2 separate regions of the Homo sapiens genome follow, and region 1 is linked to region 2. Evidence: promoter capture Hi-C in human tissues and cell types (Jung and others, 2019). All regions are on one chromosome and are shown on one strand. Each heading gives the region's core, a stretch centred on a gene start or on the middle of the fragment in contact. The rest is flanking DNA. Distances are from core to core; before and after follow the strand shown. Region 1 has its middle 43 kb from the start of INO80. Region 2 holds the start of DLL4 (delta like canonical Notch ligand 4).

The links. Contacts are between HindIII fragments. The study calls those that stand out against the background at their distance.
Region 1: a fragment that was not itself captured here is called in contact with the fragment with the promoter of DLL4 in region 2 in 1 of the 25 tissues and cell types used here (spleen).

The regions. Positions count from the first base shown.
Region 1 is chr15:41,157,552-41,161,674 of GRCh38, forward strand. No RefSeq gene overlaps it. Among named protein-coding and RNA genes, the nearest start is that of INO80, 43 kb to the left of the region's middle. The HindIII fragment of the contact is 8,306 bases long and covers 1-4,123 here.
Region 2 is chr15:40,927,680-40,932,110 of GRCh38, forward strand. It overlaps DLL4 (delta like canonical Notch ligand 4), which reads left to right and starts at 1,661. Exons shown (of 11, transcript NM_019074.4): 1 at 1,661-2,055; 2 at 2,168-2,437; 3 at 2,946-3,003; 4 at 3,824-4,087. The coding sequence starts at 1,990. RefSeq lists silencers at 803-872, 1,466-1,555. The HindIII fragment of the contact is 17,329 bases long and covers 1-4,431 here.

The sequences.
Region 1 (4,123 bases), core at 976-3,475, 230 kb after region 2:
GACTCTGTCTCAAAAAAGGAAAGAAAGACCAGGCGCGGTGGCTCACGCCTATAATTCCAGCACTTTGGAAAGCCGAGGCAGGCGGACCACAATGTCAGGAGTTCGAAACCAGCCTGACCAACATGGTGAAACCCCATTTCTACTAAAAATAAAAAAATTAGCTGGGCATGATGGCGCACACCTGTAGTCCCAGCTACTCAGGAGGCTGGGGCAGGAGAATCGCTTGAACCCGGGAGGCGGAGCTTGCAGTGAGCGGAGATCGCGCCATTGCACTCCAGCCTGGGTGACAGAGTGAGACTCCATCTCAAAAAAAAAAAAGAAAAGAAAAAATAAAAATAAGAACAAAGCAAAACAAAAAAGAACCTGGTTGAAGAGCATGTGGGAATTTCTTGTGCTGTCTTTGCAGCTCTTCTGTAAATCTAAAATTATTTCAAAATAAAAAATTACTGGCCAGGTGTAGTGGCTCACGCCTGTTATCCTAGCACTTTGGGAAGCCAAGGTGGGTTCTTGAGCTGAGGAGTTCAAGACCAGCCTGGGCAACCCCAGGCTAAAACTCCATCTCTAAAAAGACAAAAAAAAAAAAAAAAAAAGCCAGGAGCAGTGGCTCACGCTTGTAATCCCAGCACTTTGGGAGGCTGAGGCAGACGGATCACTTGATGTCAGGAGTTCAAGACCAGCCTGACTAACATGGTTGAACGGCATCTCTCCTAAAAATACAAAAATTAGCTGGGCATAATGGCATGTGCCTGTAATCCCAGCTACTCGGGAGGCTGAGGCAGGAGAATTGCTTGAACCCGGAAGGCGGAGGTTGTGGTGAGCAGAGATTGTGCCACTGTACTCCAGCCTGGGCGACAGAATGTGACTCCATCTCAAAAAATAAAAAATAAAATAAAATAAAGCTACAGTAGGCCGGGCGCGGTGGCTCATGCCTGTAATCTCAGCACTGTGGGAGGCCAAGGTCAGCAGATTACCTGAGGTCAGGAGTTTGAGACTAGCCTGGCCAACATGGTGAAACCCTATCTTTACTAAAAATATACAAATTAGCCAGGCATGGTGGCACAAGGCCTGTAATCCCAGCCATTCAGGAGGCTGAGGCAGGAGAATTGCTTGAACCTGAGAGGCAGAGGTTGCAATGAGCCGAGATCGCACAACTGCCCTCCAGCCTGGGTGACAGGGTGAGACTCTGTCTCAAAAATAAATAAATAAATAAAAATAAAATAAAATAGCTATAATAATTAAGACAGTGTGTTATCAGCATAAAATAAATAAATAACCAATAGTACAGAGCAGAGAACCCAGCAAAGACCCATCATGCATTGACACTGGATAATTTATGGTGGGAGCACTGCAGTTTTTCAATAAATGATGCCACACAATTAGGTGTCCATATACAGAAATATGTTAAATTTATCCCTACCTCACAGTTTATTAAAAAATCAATCCCAGGTAAATTAGAGATTTAAACATAAATGGCAAAACCAAAAAACATAACAAAGGAAATATCCTTAGAATGGTGGAGTAAGACAATAATTTTTCTGGCCGAGTGTGGTGGCTCCCGCCTGTAATCCCAGAACTTTGGGAGGCTGAGGCGGGTGGATCGCGTGAGGTCAGGCGTTCAAGGCCAGCCTGACCAATATGGTGAAACCCCGTCTCTACTAAAAATACAAAAATTAGCCAGGCGTGGTGGTATGCACCTGTAGTCCCAGCTACTCGGGAGGCTGAGGCAGGAGAATTGTTTGAACCCTGGAGGTGGAGGTTACAGTGAGCTGAGATCGCGCCACTGCACTCTAGCCTGTGCAACAGAGTGACACTCTGTCTCAAAAAAAAAAAAAAAGAAAAGAAAAGAAAAATAAAATAATTTTTCTTTCTGAGACAAGATCTTGGTCTGTTGCCCAGGCTGGAGGGCAGTGGCACAATCATGGCTCACAGCAGTCTCAAATTCCTGGGGTCAAGCGATCCTCTCACCTCAGTCTCCCAAAGTGCTAGGATTACAGGCATGAGCCATTGTGTCAGGCCAGAAAATAATTTTTGTTTTTTTTTTGAGACCGAGTCTTGCCCTGTTGCCCAAGCTGGAGTGCAGTGGTGCAATTATAGCTCATTGCAGCCTCCATCCCCCCAGCTCAAGCAGTCCTCCCACCTTAGCCTCCCTAGGAGGTGGGACTTCAGGTGGATGCCACCACATCAGGCTAATTTTTTTTATTAAAATTTAAAATTTTAATTTTAGGCTGGGCGCAGTGGCTCACGCCTGTAATCTCAGCACTTTGAAAGGCTGAGGCTCCATCTCAAAAAAAAATTATTTTATAATATTTAATTTTGTTTACAAAGTAATTGTATTTGCTATTCTGTTTATTTTCCTTATTATTAATTTATTTCTACTTAGACTGTATCCTCAAAAATGATTTTGACCCATACAAATTAAGTTATTTCTCTCTTCTGGCTGGGTGTGTTGCCTCGCGCCTGTAATCATAGTACTTTCAGAGGCCAAGATGGGTGGATCACCTGAGGTCAGGAGTTCAAGACTAGCCTGGCCAATATGGTGAAACCCTGTCTCTACTAAAAATACAAAAATTAGCTGGGCGTGGTAGCGCATGCCTGTAATCCCAGCTACTCAGGAGGCTGAGGCAGAAGAATCGCTTGAACCTGGGAGGCGGAGGTTGCAGTGAGCCGAGATTGCACCACTGCACTCCAGCCTGGGCAACAGAGCAAGACTCCATCTCAAAAAATAAGATAAAATAAAATAAAATAAAAAACAGTACGCCTAATGTTAGTGAGAATGTGGCATATTAGGAACTCTCATACACTGCTGTTGGGTATGTAAATCAGTAAACAGTTTGGCAGAAGGCAGCAAAGTTAAATATATACATATGTAACAAATCCACTCCTGGAGAAATTCATGCATGTTTACACCAGGATACATATATAAGAAACCTCGTAGCAACACTGTTTGCAATAACTAAACAAAGGGAACATCAATAGTGGTGGTAAGTGGTGGTAAAATGCACCCCCTTTCCTTTTTTTTTTCTTTGAGATGGAGTCTCACTGTGTCACTCAGACTGGAGTGCAGTGGTGCGAAATCAGCTCACTGCAACCTCTGCCTCCACGGTTCTAGTGATTCTCCTGCCTCAGCCCCCCGAGTACGTGGGATTACAGGCATGTGCCACCACGGCTGGCTAATTTTTGTATTTTTAGTGGAGACGGGTTTCCCCATGTTCGCCAGGCTGGTCTCGAACTCCTGACCTCGGGATCCACCCATCTCAGCCTCCCAAAGTGCTGGGATTCAAGCGTGAGCCACCCTGCCTGGCCGCGTAATGTTTTATTTCTTGAACTGGATGTTCACTTTGGATTTTTCCGTAAACAGTACATTTTCATTTAGTTAACTTCTAAGTATATTTCACAATAAAAAAGTTTTTAAAATTTCCTGGCATTCCTCTCTTGTTCCTCTAAGGCTTCCTTGAAAGTTTCCAGTTACCACTCTCACCTGGAAATCACTACAAATTAGTTTCGTAATTGAGATTTCACAAGATGCTAGATCAAAATGCTTTACCGATAGCCCAATTTTGAATATCTAACACTTCTCTTCTTCTCTCATTCCTGGAATTCTTAATCCAAAAATCCCCCAGAAAACCACTCATACCAATCTGACAAGGTCAACTATTTAAATTCATCACTGCTGTTGATTAGTCAGAATTCCTTCATCCTTTAGAGGCGTACACATTTTTTCTTTTTAAATATTTATTTCTTTATTTGATTTAATTTTGAGATTAGAATCGCACTGTGGTGATTTCCAGAAACATTTTCCGAAATTCATGTATTCTTTCCTCATTCTTCCTGAATTCCTATTATTTGTTCAGCACCTACAACAAAATCAGGGGGGCGGGGGACGTAGGAATATCACAATGACACATCGTTGATATTTACAAAAATAACAGCAAATGAAAGATTTAATCTATGTCATACAATGAGAAACACAACTGATGGATGATACTTTGATTTCCCTGTTGTTTTTAAACATTAGCAACGAGTCATACAATATTACTGGTATTTGCATTTCATCATCACTAGGCCTAATTTTTTCTAACCGAAGGGAGATTTTCAACATACAGTTAGCTTTTCATTCATCTGC
Region 2 (4,431 bases), core at 411-2,910:
CGCCCCACCTCGGTTCCCCACGCCAACCCGCTCGCGCCAGATGGTGGCTGGGAGGGGTGGCCGTGCGTGGGGGACCCCGGAGCCCGTCTCCTCACCTCGCCCCTCCCCCAACCCACGCTCCCAACCTCTTGTTTCTCATCCTTCCCCCCCCCACCACACCCGTCCCCCAGTCCTCCACCACCACCACCCAACTCAAAAAAAAAAATCAGACCATGCTCGGCATTGGCAGCTGTTGGGCTTCTCGCCGCTCCCCCACCCTTACCGCCTCCCCCGGGTTCGCGCCGCGTCCCGGCTCCCCCCCCGCGCTGATCTTACCGCCCGACTACAGCCATCACCTCGCGGGCGGGCTGACAGCTGAAGCCACAGGGCCCCCGCTGCCCTCGGCGTCGCAAAGAGAGAGCTCCCCGGCACCCCTGAGACTGGGAGAAGCCGGCCCTCCCCGGTCTGCGGTCTCCGGGGATCACGCCGGGTTCCGAGAAAGCAGCTGCGCTGCTGCCGCTTGGAGGAGTGGGGCCACCCAGGGGACCCTCTCGGGCGAGACTTGGGAAGCCGCCTGAAACTCAAACAGCTCCGCAAGCCTCCAGTTCCACCCCACATCCCGCCTTATGAGGCGAGGACCCGGGCCGACCCGGCCTCAGTCCCTCACCTTGATTCTCCAGTGGCCTGAGCCAACTCTGGCGTCAGGAGAGTTCCTCCTTGCCCCAGCTGAGCGACAGGGCGCGGCCGGGGGCTTGGGGCTGCTGGGGTGGGGGGAGGCAGTGGGCGCAGGAACTGAAGCTGGACTCAGGTGAGGGGACGCGCTGGAGGCGGGGCCAGAACCTCATTACCATACAGCTGAGGACGCGCCCCCCTCCTACCTCCGGGACCACGCCCCGCCCTCCCCCACCTCAGGGACCGCGCGTCTGGGTCTCTGGCACGCGCCAAGCCCTGGCAGGGGGCAGAAGGGAGAAGGCACGCGCTGGGCACGCCCCCCCTTAGCTAGAGAGGGAGACGCCCAACAGGTGCACAGAGAGGGCCCCGAGCCTTAGACCCTTAGCCCCTAGCCTTGCTCAGAGTGGCCACAGAGAGGTTAACGCTTCTGCTGGCTTCCCTGCTGCGCTGGGGACGCGTGGTGGGTGGGCACTCATAGGTTGGGGGCCGTTGAGACAAGGGCTCCAGAAGCTCCAGGAAGGAAAAGGAGATCGGATTTCCCTAGCGCTGGTTTTTGCATTCCGGGCTTAAGTTCTTTTTACCTGCTTTGGAACACTAGGTAACTAGCGCCTGCTGCGGATGCACAGCCTACAGGGACTGCCTAGTGTCTCCGCCCCCAAGACCATCCCCGAACCACCCACTCACCTCCTGCCCCATTACCGGGCAACCCCTCTATCCTCCGGCGGCCAGGGTCTCAGCCCTTAACCCCGCCATCACGGAGGACTGGTCACCTCGGCACGCGCAGAGCTGGGGGACCTAGAGGTTGGGAGCGGCACGGAGGGGCGGGGACCTGCGCCCGACTGGCTGACGGGGAGGGGGGAGCGGCGGGGGCGGAGGCCCCCTCCGGGCGGCGCTGGGACTGTAGCAGCTAGAGGCCGGGAGGGGAGGGGAGAATGACCATGAGTCTGAGTGACAGGCGGCGAGGAGAGGAGCCAATATATATAAGGAAGGCCCCCAGCGCGCAGGTTTCAGTAGCGGCGCTGCGCGCAGGCCGGGAACACGAGGCCAAGAGCCGCAGCCCCAGCCGCCTTGGTGCAGCGTACACCGGCACTAGCCCGCTTGCAGCCCCAGGATTAGACAGAAGACGCGTCCTCGGCGCGGTCGCCGCCCAGCCGTAGTCACCTGGATTACCTACAGCGGCAGCTGCAGCGGAGCCAGCGAGAAGGCCAAAGGGGAGCAGCGTCCCGAGAGGAGCGCCTCTTTTCAGGGACCCCGCCGGCTGGCGGACGCGCGGGAAAGCGGCGTCGCGAACAGAGCCAGATTGAGGGCCCGCGGGTGGAGAGAGCGACGCCCGAGGGGATGGCGGCAGCGTCCCGGAGCGCCTCTGGCTGGGCGCTACTGCTGCTGGTGGCACTTTGGCAGCAGGTAACACGTCCCGCGCCCTCTCCGTCCCCTCTGCCGCGCTCTGGGCCTCAGCCCCGGGCACCAGCTGAGCTGACCGGTCCCCTCCCTCCTTCCCTCGGTCCCTGTGCAATAGCGCGCGGCCGGCTCCGGCGTCTTCCAGCTGCAGCTGCAGGAGTTCATCAACGAGCGCGGCGTACTGGCCAGTGGGCGGCCTTGCGAGCCCGGCTGCCGGACTTTCTTCCGCGTCTGCCTTAAGCACTTCCAGGCGGTCGTCTCGCCCGGACCCTGCACCTTCGGGACCGTCTCCACGCCGGTATTGGGCACCAACTCCTTCGCTGTCCGGGACGACAGTAGCGGCGGGGGGCGCAACCCTCTCCAACTGCCCTTCAATTTCACCTGGCCGGTGAGCACAGCCTGGGCGCACTGGGAGGTCGCAGAAGCCGAGAGAGGAGGCGCCCTGGGACCAAAGCCCCCTCCCCAGATTTCCTTGTACACACACCCCCACCCCCAAAAAGCCCAGGATGCATTCTTTCCTGGCTCTTCCCGACTCTCTCCTGAGACTGATCCCAGAAAAGGCTCTCACCAGTCTCCGTCTTCCCAGTTTATGTCCTCCCGTCCCCAGCTCTTGGGACACGATTTTCATTACCTACCACTCTGGGGCGGTACCCTACCACCCCCTCCTCCAGTGGCTCTCCCTTACACTCTCCCGTCTCTCAACCCTCCCTCTACCGGGGGTTCTCCTCTCGCCTTCCCTGCTCAAGCGCTACACTGTGCACAGCCCCGTTATGTTGACCCGGGCGCAGTAACTGAATCCTGCAATTAGATTAATTAAACAGGCTGCCGCAAGGCACCCCCACCTCTCCCCGCTTGCTCATCTCGCCATCTCTCCGTCCCCCCACCCCCTTTCCCAGGGTACCTTCTCGCTCATCATCGAAGCTTGGCACGCGCCAGGAGACGACCTGCGGCCAGGTGAGTAGCTCGCTCCGCCACCACAGGGGGGCGACACGGCGCAGCGCCGAAAGAGTTAATCTGTTCTAGGCGGGGGAAGTGCGGGCTTGGGGGTGGGAGGCAGGACGCTTAGCTTGGCCTGGAGCTGCGCCCCGCGCTGGACGCTCGGATTCCGCTCGCTGCCTGGACTCAGAGCACAATTGCGTTTCCTGCGGGTTATTTTTGGCGTGGGAACGCGGGGAGTACGGCGGTGAGAAAGGCTGAAGCTGCCAGCGCCGCTGACGGGCCCCTTCCTGTATTTTACACCTTTCGCGAATTCCGCTCCTTTGGAAAGGGAATAATGGCTTTGGGATGTTGTTCTGACACAGAGGAAAAGGATATTTCAGCAGCACAACAATTCTCACTTTGAAAAGGAAAAAAGAAAACCATTACCCACCTCTGGAGGCAGAACCCCTGAATGGGCACCAAAGGACCCCCTGCTCCCAGGGTCCTCTCTAGCCTGGGGAGCTTTTCTTTCTTTTTCTCTTTTTTCCATTTTGACCTCTTTTCCTCTTTCCCCTCCCTATCTGCCTCCAAGACCCTGGGATATCTTAACATCCTTCTATTGTCCCCTTTTTGAATACTATCAGGCCCCCTGCACATGCACACACGTAGGGCAGCTACGTAGCGGGGCTTTGGGTCCCTCTGGCCTGTTCTTGCTGGCAGGCGGGGGTCATCTGGATAACTGGGCTGATTGGTTGGCTGATCACCATCATCACAGCCAAGAAGGACATTGGCCAGCCGTCACTGGCACCCTTGGGGACTGGCGACCCTTCCCTGACCCGACCCTCTGCCCCCTCAGAGGCCTTGCCACCAGATGCACTCATCAGCAAGATCGCCATCCAGGGCTCCCTAGCTGTGGGTCAGAACTGGTTATTGGATGAGCAAACCAGCACCCTCACAAGGCTGCGCTACTCTTACCGGGTCATCTGCAGTGACAACTACTATGGAGACAACTGCTCCCGCCTGTGCAAGAAGCGCAATGACCACTTCGGCCACTATGTGTGCCAGCCAGATGGCAACTTGTCCTGCCTGCCCGGTTGGACTGGGGAATATTGCCAACAGCGTAAGCAGTCAAGCTCCCACCTGTGTGGAAGGGGAGGGTCCCCTGAGGAAACACAGTGGAGCTTCTTGGTCACAGCTTGCCTCCCTTGAAGAGTGGGTCTGGGCCTCCTACTAGCTGGGCCTCAGGGATGCTGAGGGTGGGCTTGACCTCAGACCTCCTGTCTCTTCCCAGTGCTCCTCCCATCATGCCAAAGCCCACAAGAACCCCATCATGACATTCCATCCAGTTTGGCTTCTCCTTCCCTGTGCCATTATTTCACTTTAAGACACTCGGGGCTCCTCTGGGAGGCCAGGAGTAGGAAGAGGGCCCAGGAGAGCTAGGGGATCCCCAGGGCCAGCAGGTGA